2 separate regions of the Homo sapiens genome follow, and region 2 is linked to region 1. The links are contacts of gene promoters, found by promoter capture Hi-C in blood cells and fetal thymus (Javierre and others, 2016). All regions are on one chromosome and are shown on one strand. Each heading gives the region's core, a stretch centred on a gene start or on the middle of the fragment in contact. The rest is flanking DNA. Distances are from core to core; before and after follow the strand shown.

What was found. Contacts are between HindIII fragments. The CHiCAGO score rates a contact against its expected background, and 5 or more counts as called.
Region 2: a contact is called between the fragment with the promoter of IFNGR1 here and the fragment with the promoter of HEBP2 in region 1, in 1 of 17 cell types (naive CD8 T cells). The highest score is 5.4, in naive CD8 T cells.

The regions. Positions count from the first base shown.
Region 1 is chr6:138,400,880-138,406,407 of GRCh38, reverse strand. HEBP2 (heme binding protein 2) reads right to left here and starts at 2,185. Exons shown (of 4, transcript NM_014320.3): 1 at 1,811-2,185; 2 at 1,128-1,263; 3 at 257-437. The coding sequence starts at 1,912. It also overlaps the pseudogene MARCKSL1P2. RefSeq lists enhancers at 1,929-2,449, 2,971-3,491 and silencers at 1,720-2,569, 2,700-2,769. The HindIII fragment of the contact is 19,528 bases long and covers 1-5,528 here.
Region 2 is chr6:137,217,117-137,222,644 of GRCh38, reverse strand. It overlaps IFNGR1 (interferon gamma receptor 1), which reads left to right and starts at 3,260. Exons shown (of 7, transcript NM_000416.3): 1 at 3,260-3,402. The coding sequence starts at 3,318. RefSeq lists enhancers at 2,790-3,039, 2,890-3,620, 5,061-5,120 and silencers at 3,080-3,309, 3,350-3,569, 4,030-4,079. The HindIII fragment of the contact is 10,215 bases long and covers 1-5,528 here.

The DNA.
Region 1 (5,528 bases), core at 936-3,435:
TTGTTTTGGGAGCATATAATTTGCACCGTGTCTTATATGAAGGGCATGCAATAGACTCATTAAATGAAGTGATTATTATCTTGTGACAGACCTCAGTAACATATACAACAAAGCCAGTAGGAAAACATCACAAAATGCATTAGACCTGATTTTATGGAAGGGTGAAAAAGCCTTTTGAAATTGCATTGGAGCTAAACTGTGAGTGCACGCAAGTAAAACTAGCAGTCAGCAAGGCTATAAATTATCTACCACTTACCGTACAAACACAGTCATTTCGGCTCTATCTTCAATGAAGACATCTGACTCTAAAGGCCTGGGTGGATCAAATTGCTGTTCAGAGGGAATATACAGGGAAATGGTAATGGTAGACTCACTAAAAGGACCTGAACCAGGCTCCACGTAGCTTGTCACTGGAGCTGTCATCTTTATTTTCATCTCTGTGACATAAAAATGAAAGCAAATTTAGTGTATTTTTGACAGCTTTAAACATTTAACCTATTCTTTTTTGATCTGGGTTCCTTGATTTACTTCACATTGTTGACATATTTACCTTTAAGATAATTTTCATCTTAAAACAGTAAGGCCAAAATTACTCAATTGCTCACTGCCCACATTAAACCACTTTCTGTAATACTGATATTCTGGGTTAATAAATTCTTAATTTTTAGAGATAAAAGGGGAAATTAGAGATTACATGGTCAGTAAATTATTTTTTCTTACCATTCAGAAAATGAGGTCCCACAGGCTAAGAGACCTGCTAAAATATAAATAGCAGCAAAGCCAGACCAAAAGCTATGACTTGATGCTTCTAATCTTGGTACCTTCTTGCCTCCTGACGTCTCTGATCCTACCAGTCACCAAATTATCTTGAGGTGTTAGCCATAGAAAAGGACTTATCACGAGTTACACCAAACCCCAGTTCATCCAGCAAAATCAGAGAACAGAGGTTGAAAAGTAATACCCAGTGTAACCCTGGTCCTGAGGAGTCTTGTCTGAAAACAAGACAAGTCTTTGATGACTTGCTTATTTTTCCATTATAAAGGATATTTCTTTAATAAGCTAAAACTCAATAATAAGCCCGGGGACTCTTTCACAATATGCATAATTACAAGGAAAACTGCTTTTACCTTTCTCGTTTTTGCCTTGAATGTAGCTGTTCAGTTTCGTAAAGCCCGTCTGGATGGCTGAATCCCAGTCCATAGACTCCACGGACGTGCTGACCCACTTGGCTGGTCCATAGTGTCGGATCTCATAACTTCCGGGCTAAAGTGGAACAGAGAAAACTTCGAGAAGCAATTCTAAGAGGGTAGGAGTGAGATGCAAAAATACCGGTGCCATGATCTCGGGTCGACCTGGAGCCGTCCTGTCTAGGGGCTGCACCGCCCCGGGGTCCGGCCTGAGGTCCCCGCTCCTTAGGTCTGGGAGGTTCCCCTCCACGAGGTTCCCCTCCTTGCGATTAGGGACCGCAGCGGCCCCAACCCCACACGCTGGGGACTCGATTCACACTTTCAGACAAGCATCTATTACACCCCCTCGGTTCGGAGGGTTCCACCGCGCGTTCTGGGACGTAACCAGTTCCTCCCCGCCCCACCACCCCGCAAAGACAAGAAATTGAGATGGGACCTGCACTGGGGGTAGCGGGGAGGGTAGAGCTAAATGACCGGGGTTTCTCGTTTGCGTAGCATAGTGGGTAGGGACTGGGACCATTTAAAAAACTGTACTTTTTACTTAACTCTATGGGACCCGCTGGCCTCACTGCAAATCAGCCGGAAGGCGGGCCCAGCCCCTCCGCTCCCGAGTCGGCGCCTACCTGGGGGCCGGCGTCCTCCGGGGCCTTCCAGCCCGGCGTCTCCACAGCTTGGGCCGCCGCGTCCTCGGCCGCCCCGGGGTCTGGCTGGAGCGGCTCGGCCATGGGCGGCGCTGACGCTCTGGGAGCCTGGTCAGCCGCGCAGAGGCCCCGCACCCCGGGCCGCCCCGCCTGCGTGTGCGCGCCCCGCCGAGGCCCCGAGTCCCCGCTCCGCAGACCCGGTCCCTCCTCCCGGCCGGGCTGGAGACCCGAGCCCACCCGATGCGTCTGCCTCTGGACCGCGAGGGGGCGCCGCCACCAAGGCGGGGCCGGCTCACGACCCCGGACAGCTCCGGCCGGAGTTGCGCGTCCTGCCCCCGCCCCTCCGCGGCGACAGGGAGCCGCACCTCGCTTCGGCCCGCCTTCTTTTGAGGCACTTCCGCCCCCGCCCCGCCTTTGTTTTTGAAGGAAAGGCACACACAGGTGGCCCCGCGGGCAGTAGGGGGTGGCGCTGTTTCTGTGCAACCGGTTTGGGAACCTCTGCCGCGGCCCCGCCCGCGCTGGGAACCGCGGGCGCTGAGCCGCCTCGAGGGTGTCCCAGCGCACCGCAGGCAGAGAAAGGCAGGAGGTGGCGGCTGGCGACCCGACCCCCGCGGCCCCTGCCCGCACTCCTGGGGCTCAGCCAGGGCGAATGGCCGTACTCATCCCAAGAAGTTGTCCTAGGTCCCAGACAGCTTTCAGGGTCCCTTGCGGAGGAGGTGGTGGGACCACAGACACATGGAGAGAATCTGGAACTGTTCTGGTTTCTGAACTTTTCCCCGACAGGACCCCAGACCCTCTGAGTCATCCCCGCAGGCTTAACGAGACTCGGGGAGAGTTAGTGCCGAGGCCAGACACTAGTGCTTTTCAAGAATTTTGGTTACCAGGGCTTTCCCGAGCCGAGTGGGGTGCGGCTCTGTTCCCCAGCACCCCCTTTCCGCCGGCCAGGCCGACTCCGCGTTACTGTCCCCTGCGGCGGGGACCCGGCACGGCTCCGGCGCCCCCCAGAGGACTCCCATCGTGGGCAGCCAGAGCTCCGAGGCTCTCCGGGGCGACGTGACCGCCGCAGAGGCAGCAGGCACTCCCCACGCGAAAGCCAACGGACAGGAGGGTGGCCACGTGAAAAGCAATGGTGACATCCCCCAAGGGTGAAGGGGAGTAGGCCCCTGTGAACAGAAGAGGCAGCCGGGACCATTGGCAATGCCATGGAGCCAGCACCCCCTAGCCAGGGTGCTGAGGCCAAAGGGGAGGCTCCCTCCCTCGCAAGGAGACTTCCAAGAAGACGAAATTGCCTTTCAAGGCCAGGCACGGTGGCTCACGCCTGTAATCCCTTCATTTTGGGAGGCCAAGACAGGGGTGATCGCTTGAGCCCAGGAGTTCGAGACCAGACTGGGCAACATGGCGAAAACCCGTCTCTACAAAAATACAATAAAATAGCGTTGATAGTAGAGTGGAGAGCATAGCTGCCTTCCAAAAAAAAAAAAAAAAAAAAAAAAGCTGAGTGTGCTGGGGTTGTGATCTCAGCTACTCGGGAGGCTGAGGTGGGAGGATCGGCTTGAGCCTGGGGAGGTCGAAGCTGCAGTGAGCCGAGATTGCGCCACTGCACTCTAGCTTGGGTAACAGAGTGATACCCTGTCTAAAATAAATAAATAAATAAATAAATAAATAAATAAATAAATAAATAAATAATTATCTTTCAAGAAGGGTTTCTAAGAGCAGCTTGTCCTTCAAGAGAAATGGGAAGGAGGGTGGGGTGACTCTTCTGCCTCCTCACCTATGGAGGAAGAACAGGAGTGGGGGAAGATCAATGCCTGCAGCGACAAGGGCGCTGCCCAGGAAGGGAAGGCTGTTGCCACCCCTGAGAGCCAGGAGCCCCAGGCCAAGGGCGCAGAGGCAGTACTGCCTCAGAAGAAGAGGCAGGGCCCCAAGCTACAGAGCTGTCCACTCCCTCGGGGCGGAGAGTGGCCCTACACCAGCCCACGCTGAGCAGAATGAGTAGCTGGGTGGGCCAGGTGGGTGATCTCTAAGCTGCAAAAACTGCTGTTCTTGTGAGGTTACTGCCTGGACCTGGTGCCCTGGCTGCCCTCCTGTGCCCAGAAAGGAAGGGGCTATTGCATCCTACCAGCTACATTCCCTTTCCTTCTCTCCCTCCTGTGGATTCTCCAATCGGCCATGTGGCTTTCCTCGTAAGGCCAGTTGAAGACGGTCCCCCACAGCCTCCCAAGTTAGATTAGTGATATGAAATGTGCCTTTCCCTGGCCCTGCCTCCTTCCCTGTCCCCAGCCCTGCAGAAGGCAATTTTTGGTTTTCTTCCCCAATTCTTTTCCAAGTAGGTTTTGTTTACCCTACTCCCCAAATCCCTGAGCCAGAAGTTGGGTGCTTAAACTCCCAAACCTCGAGGGTCCGGCCTCCCCGCTGTTGAGTTTTTACTCTGGTGCTGTGCCTAGTGGCACCTGGGCCGGGCAGGGGGGCACTGCCCTGCCTAGGGTTCTATTCAAGTTCCAACCTTCAGCTTGTGAATCAACTGTGTCTCTTTTTTGACTCGGTAAGCACATGTTAGGCTTTGGGGCCAGGGAGAGGTCTGTAATGTGAAATAACTTCTTCTTGCCTTTTCTTCTCTCATTTTTATGAATAACTTTTAATGGCCAAACCCCAGATTTGTATTCTTTTTTTTTCTAACTGCTACAACCATTCTCTTCCACCTGGTTTTATTATAACAATTGGAAAAGGAATAAATATCCCTTAAATTTTTTTTTGTTAGATGTATTCTTTATTTTTTCCAAGAGATTTATTAAGATATAATTCATATACCATATAGTTCACCCATTTAAAGTGTACTAGTCAATGGTTTTTAGGATCTTTAGATCTGGGCAACCATCATCACAAGGACTGGGCAACCATCATCACAAGGTGAGAACATTTTCATCACTTCCCACCCTTAAAGAAACTCTATAACCTTTAGCCACCACCTCCCAATTCCCCATTCCCTATGCCTAGACAACTACTAATTTGTTCTCTGTCTCTATAGTTTTGTCTATTTGGAACATTTCATATGAATGGACTCATAATAGTACGTGGTCCTTTGTGACTGGTTTCTTTAACTTGGCAAAGTGTTTTCGAGGTTCATCTGTGTTGTGGCAGGTACTCCATTTCTTTTTATAGCTGATTAATAGTCCATTGGATAAACATTTTATCAACTTATCAGATGAGGGACATTTGGGCCATTTTCAACTTTTGGCTATTATAAATAAAGCTGCTCTACATGTTTATGTACATGTTTCTGTGTGCATGTATGTTTTCATGTCTCTTGGGTAAACATCTAGGAGTAGAAGTTCTGGGTCAAATGGTAACTCTATGTTTAACTTTCTGAGAAACTGCCAGACTGTTTTTTCGCCACTTCACATTCTCACTAACAAGGTGTGAGCATTCTATTTCTCCACATCCCCATCAACACGTGTTTTTATCTGGCTTTTGGATTATAATCATCCTAGTGGGTGTATGCTATGGTTTGAATGTTCATCTCTTCAGAAACTCATGTTGAAACTGAATCCCCAATAGGGCAGTATTGAAAGATGGGGCCTTAAGAGGTGATTGAGTGATGAGGGCTCTGAAATTAATCCATTCATGGGTTAATGGGTTAATGGATTATTGGGTTAGCACGAGAATGGGACTTGTGGTTTTATAAGAGGAAGAAGAGAGACCT
Region 2 (5,528 bases), core at 2,011-4,510, 1.2 Mb after region 1:
AGAAAAGAGGAAGGAAATGCACTGTGCTCAGAGCCAAAATGCACAGTTTGTTCCACACACACAGGCTCTGTTCTCATTGGATCATATTTCTAGCTTCTTAAATTGTTTTATTTGGCCTATTAACTTGAAAGGCAGGTGAGTATGGTCTTCAAAATGTAGCCTTGCTCCTGAGCAGCAGCACTTCAGTATACACTTGGCTTTGGAATGATCTACGCTCCACCCCAATTTGTTTTCTTCATTTTAAAAACTAATCTGAGGCTCTAGTGGGGACCAACGTATACTTGGATATTCCCCAGCCATTAGGCATTGGAAATTTATCAAGGAAAGCTGGCACCGCTCATTTGTTTCTGTGTTAGCTGTATGAGATTTTTATATGGGATTTTAAAATACAGTTTATTGCTCTTCTTCCTACCTCTCTTATTAGCCGGTGGCCACCCCCATCTTTTAACTTTATTCAGGCTAATTTTACCTTATCCTTCAGGTCACAACATAATGGTAACTTCCTTAAAAAAGAATTTCCCTAAATCCAGACACAGTGGCTCACACCTGTAATCCCAGCATTTTGGGAGCCTGAGGCAGGAGAATCATTTGAGCCCAGGAGTTTGAGACCAGCCTGAGCAACACAGCAAGACCCCAGCTCTATAAAAAATTTAAAAACTAGCCGGGCATAAGGCCAGGCGAGGTGGCTCACTCCTGTAATCCCAGCACTTTGGGAGGCCAAGGTGGGCGGATTGCTTGAGCTCAGGAGTTTGAGATCAGCCTGGGCAACATGGTGAAACCCCATCTCCACAAAAGACACAAAAAAATGCCTGTGGTCCCAGCTACTTGGGAGGCTGAGGTGGAAGGATGGCTTGCGCCCGGGAGGTGGAGGTTGCAGTCAGCTGAGATTGTGCCACTGTACCTCAGCTAGGTGATACAGTCAGACCCTGTCTCAAAAAAAAAAAAAAAAATTAGCCAGGCATGGTGGTGTACACCTGTAGTCCCAGCTATTTGGGAGGCTGGGGCAAGAGGATCATTTGGGCCCAGGAGTTTGAGGCTGCAGTAAGCTATGATCATGCCTCTGCACTGCAGCCTAGACGACAGAGTGAGACCCTGTCTCAAAAGAAAGAAAAAAGAAAAGAAAGACTTTCTTTAAAATGTAGACTAAGTTAAATTCCTGTTTATACTCCTTTAATCTCTTCCCATTGCTCTCCTTGGGAATGATGATCACGATTTCAGTACTTGTGTAATTCCTTGTTTAACAGCTATCTCCCTCAGTAGACAGTAAGCTCCGTGAGGGCAGGGGCCATGTCTGTCTTGCTCAGGTCTTTATCTCTGTGCCTGGTCATGTCAGTCACAGACAGTATCACTTGATAATATTCACCCAATTAATAAATATATTTAGTCTCCAAATGACTAACTAGCAAAGTCTTCAGAAGGATACGTAGGGTGGTGGGTGCTGTGATTGTGAAACTTGCCCAGATCCCTCTCAGGAACAGAAGACTGGGTTCTGTCCCCTTCCTGATGCTAGGAGGGCTGCCAGTAGACACCCTCAACCGTCAGCGTTCCTCTGGGGAATGCCTCCATGAAAGAAATGGACAGCCCCAAAATCATGACAGTTGGTATTCAATGACTAATCAGTGCTGGGCTTTAAGACCCAGCCCCTCATACCAACTCAAGACACCTTTACAAGGCCATCCCAACTCCAGAGCGCCCCTTGGGAGCCTTTACTGGGATGGCATCACAGATCAACTTCTTCCTCCGCTCTGCTTCCTCCACCTCCCCTTCACAGACGTTTATTCCAAGAGCACTCCCTAATCAATCAATGCCTTATACCTTAATCTCGACCTCAGAGTTTACTGCCAGGGTAACCCAGCCTGTGACAAGTACCACAAAAATGTTTACAAACTGGATATCATATTTTGTCCTACTCCATAGACGCCTAAACGGTAAAGATCAGTTATTTATCCTTGCATCCTTACAACGACTAGAAGGTGTCTTTCATATAGTGGACATCAGAAACACATCAAAGGAAATATTCTCCCTAAACTTAGTCTAGATTGAGCTAAATTCTTCTGATTCAAAGTGTGGTCCTGTTGAAAGGGGCACCAGCATCCCCTGTGCATTTTGTCCGAAATACAAAATCTCAAGACCCAACCTGAATTAGAACTACTGAATCCAAATCTGCATTTTATCAAGATCCCCAGATGGTTCACATGTATGTTGAAGTTTGAGAAGTACTGAGCTAAGAGATTTATTAATACAAGTAAAATGATCTGGCTGATAATACCTCTAGTTTATATAGTGTCTTTATAAGGATTTTCCCTCTTTAAAAATTTTCCTTAACACTAGTAATCATGCAGTCTTTCACTCAACAAATACTAATTGAGTGCCAAGTAAAGATGTCAGCTCTACGGAGCTTACATTTTAGAAGGAGAAGAAAACAAATATCAAGGTGTATATTATAGTGTACAGCAAGGTGAAAAGTGCCATGAAAAAACAGTAGGGCGGGGTAAGGAGGAGGAGAAGGTGTGTTGCAATTTAAAATTTTTAACAAAAGTTCATGATACTCAGAGAATTGAAACAGGTGAGATCATTAGACATTCGCATGTTTGAGCACAAGCGCTGAAGGACTTAGCAATGTGGCTGCAGTGGAATAGGAGAGATGCAAAATAACAGACAAACCCAGAGAGGTAAGAGAGCAGACCTCTTCATGAGAGGCTGCCTGATAAACTGATTTGACACTGAATTGCTGAGAAGGTAATGCAAATAGTTTTTTTCTCCAAGAACAAAGTAGTTCTTGGTCAAGCCGATTTGATTTGGGCTGTGGGAATCTGCACAAACCATTTCACTAGCTAAGTCTCAGGTTCCTCAAATGAAAAAGCAGGGACTGGAAATGGCTTTTGAAGTCTCATTCTCTTCTAAAAATGTCAGGCTCCAAGACAACCAGGTGAAGTCCAAGAGTTAGTAAAATAAGGATTGTGGCTCGGCTGTGGCCTAATGCAAACTTGCACAACCCCAGGAAACCGAAAAAAACTGGAAGAAGAATTGCAGAATGGGGTGCCAGGTTGAAAGACCTTAACCTTTGCACTCAAATTCCTCCCACACCCAGAAGTCCAGGTCCCGACCGCACGACGCCGTGCTCACTGCTGGGTGCTGCGCCTGAGTCCGCCTCCTGCGGCTTCCCGGACTTGACCCCGCCCACGCCCTGGTCCCGCCTCCTGCCGACGCCGGCACAGACCCCGGTGACGGAAGTGACGTAAGGCCGGGGCTGGAGGGCAGTGCTGGGCTGGTCCCGCAGGCGCTCGGGGTTGGAGCCAGCGACCGTCGGTAGCAGCATGGCTCTCCTCTTTCTCCTACCCCTTGTCATGCAGGGTGTGAGCAGGGCTGAGATGGGCACCGCGGATCTGGGGCCGTCCTCAGGTACCGTCGTTCGCGGCAGGGCTGCGGCCGGGTCGGGACGAGAGGGAGGGAGGGATCCGCCCCAGCCGGGAAGCCCCGCCCCGCTTCTCCGAGGTCGCCCTAGCCCGGGACCCCTGCGTCGGGCCCTGAGCGGGCGACGGGGACGCGAGGTGGGGTCGCGAGACTGGGGCTCCGTGGTTTGAACTCGTCGGTTGCCTTTCTCCTGCCTCTTCCCTGGTTGCCGCCACAACAAATCACGCCGCTTGTTTTTCCGACTCTTGTAATCCACTTTTAAATACGATTATGCGCTGCAGAAGGACGTTGCTGGTCAATGTGGGACAGCGTGGTCTCAAAGATTATAATATCGTCTTCTTACTGTACCTTTTTTTATGGTTAGATACGCAGATACTCACTAGTATGCTACGGTTGCCTGCAGTGTTCAGTGCAGTGACAGGCTGTACAGGTTCATGACCTAAGAGCAGTAGGCTGTGTCATCTGGGTTTGTCTGGGTTTCTACTGCCCGAAGAAATTGCCTAAGGGGACATTTCTCCATTTCTCAGAACGGATCTCCATCGTTAAGTGACGCATGACTGTGAGTGTCCTGATCAGCATGTGGCATCGTGGTCTCAGTTCGTGGCTTAAATACTTCTTTCTTAGCGGGGGTGGGGGGGGGGACTCAAAGTGCTTAGGGTAGGAAAGTATGCATTATGTCGCCAGCTGAGAAGTAAGTGGCAGCTGAGAAGTAAGTGGCAGTCCGTCTTAGGTCTCAGTCTGGAAGTGGTGGATTGCCGGCACTCACTAGCAGATTTGGCAGTAGGTCTCTTCGTACGGGTTTGTTCTTCGGAGCATTTTATTTCCACCTGCTTATTGACATTTCCTAGAAAACAAATGTTGAGGGTGGCTTTTCTGAAGTGCAGAGTAATTGTGATTACGAGCTCCAGAGAAAACAGTAAACCTTTTCAATTCAGTTTTCTTTTTTTTATTATGATTTATGATTCATAGGGACTTTGAAAGGTCCACGTTTTGGTTCTGTGTTCACAACAATCTTCTGGAGTAGGCGTTATTTGTCTCTCTCTTTATGGACGAGAAATTGAGTTACGGAGAGGCCTGCCCAACTGGCAGAGAGGTCATAGCCACTCAGTGGGGAGCTGCTCAATTTGGCTCCAGAGTCCAAGTTCTTAACTGCTCTTCTAGGCTCTAGTCAGTCATCCACATGGGCAGTTGCAGTACTTTGCGGTAAGAGCTTGCACTTAGGCACAGACTAGTGGAAAGCAAGGCGGGGTGCTTGTCTCTTTTAGGGAAGTCAGTGAAGACTTCACAAAGGTGACCCCAGTGTTGGAACCAGAGGTGCAGAGACTGAGGTGCAGAGGTGTGATAGCATGTTGAATTCGTGGAATATTAAGCGTTCTATTGTAAAGTGTGTGTGAGAGCTTACAAGGGGAGGAGATAGGTTAGGTGGAGAAGTAGGAACCAAATAATGAATTGCCATATTATGTGTACCAGCAAGAAACCTAGCTTTATTAACTTAAGCAAAAAGAGGAATTTATTGTCTCAGAAAAACCAGAGTTAAACAGAAAATTATAGATGCCAGCTGGGTCTCAAGAGGCTAGAACCAGGAACCCAAACTGCTAGGACTCTCCATTTCTTATTTCTGTCTGGGTATTGACAGCTTTCCACACTTGGCAGGAATCATGGATGCTGACAGCTTCTGAGTTTTGACATCTTGCAGCCTCCTCCATTCTAACAAAATGCCAGGGAAAGGCTCTGATTTGCCCAGCTAGGTTCAGGTGCCAGCTTGCATGGGAAGGACATTCTCGTAGAGGGTTGGGTTGGGTTACCAGAAGAAGCGGAATGGCGTGCCTGAAGTACAGGTGTTGAGCCAACAAAATAATACACCCACTATGCCTTGCTGAAGTCAGTCATTATTTACTAATGCTGACATCATTGGATTATCAATTACAAAGGGAAATGATTTTATGCAGGATCAGACATGCCATTTAGAAAGACCAGTCATCTTATAAAATAGTTTGAGGGTAAACACAAGGCCCATTAGGAGGCTGCTGCTTAAGTTGGAGTCGATAAGTAGTTTAAGTGGAGAAGAGGACAGTTAGCAGAACATTTAGAAGGAAGAGTTAGTAGGCCTCTGA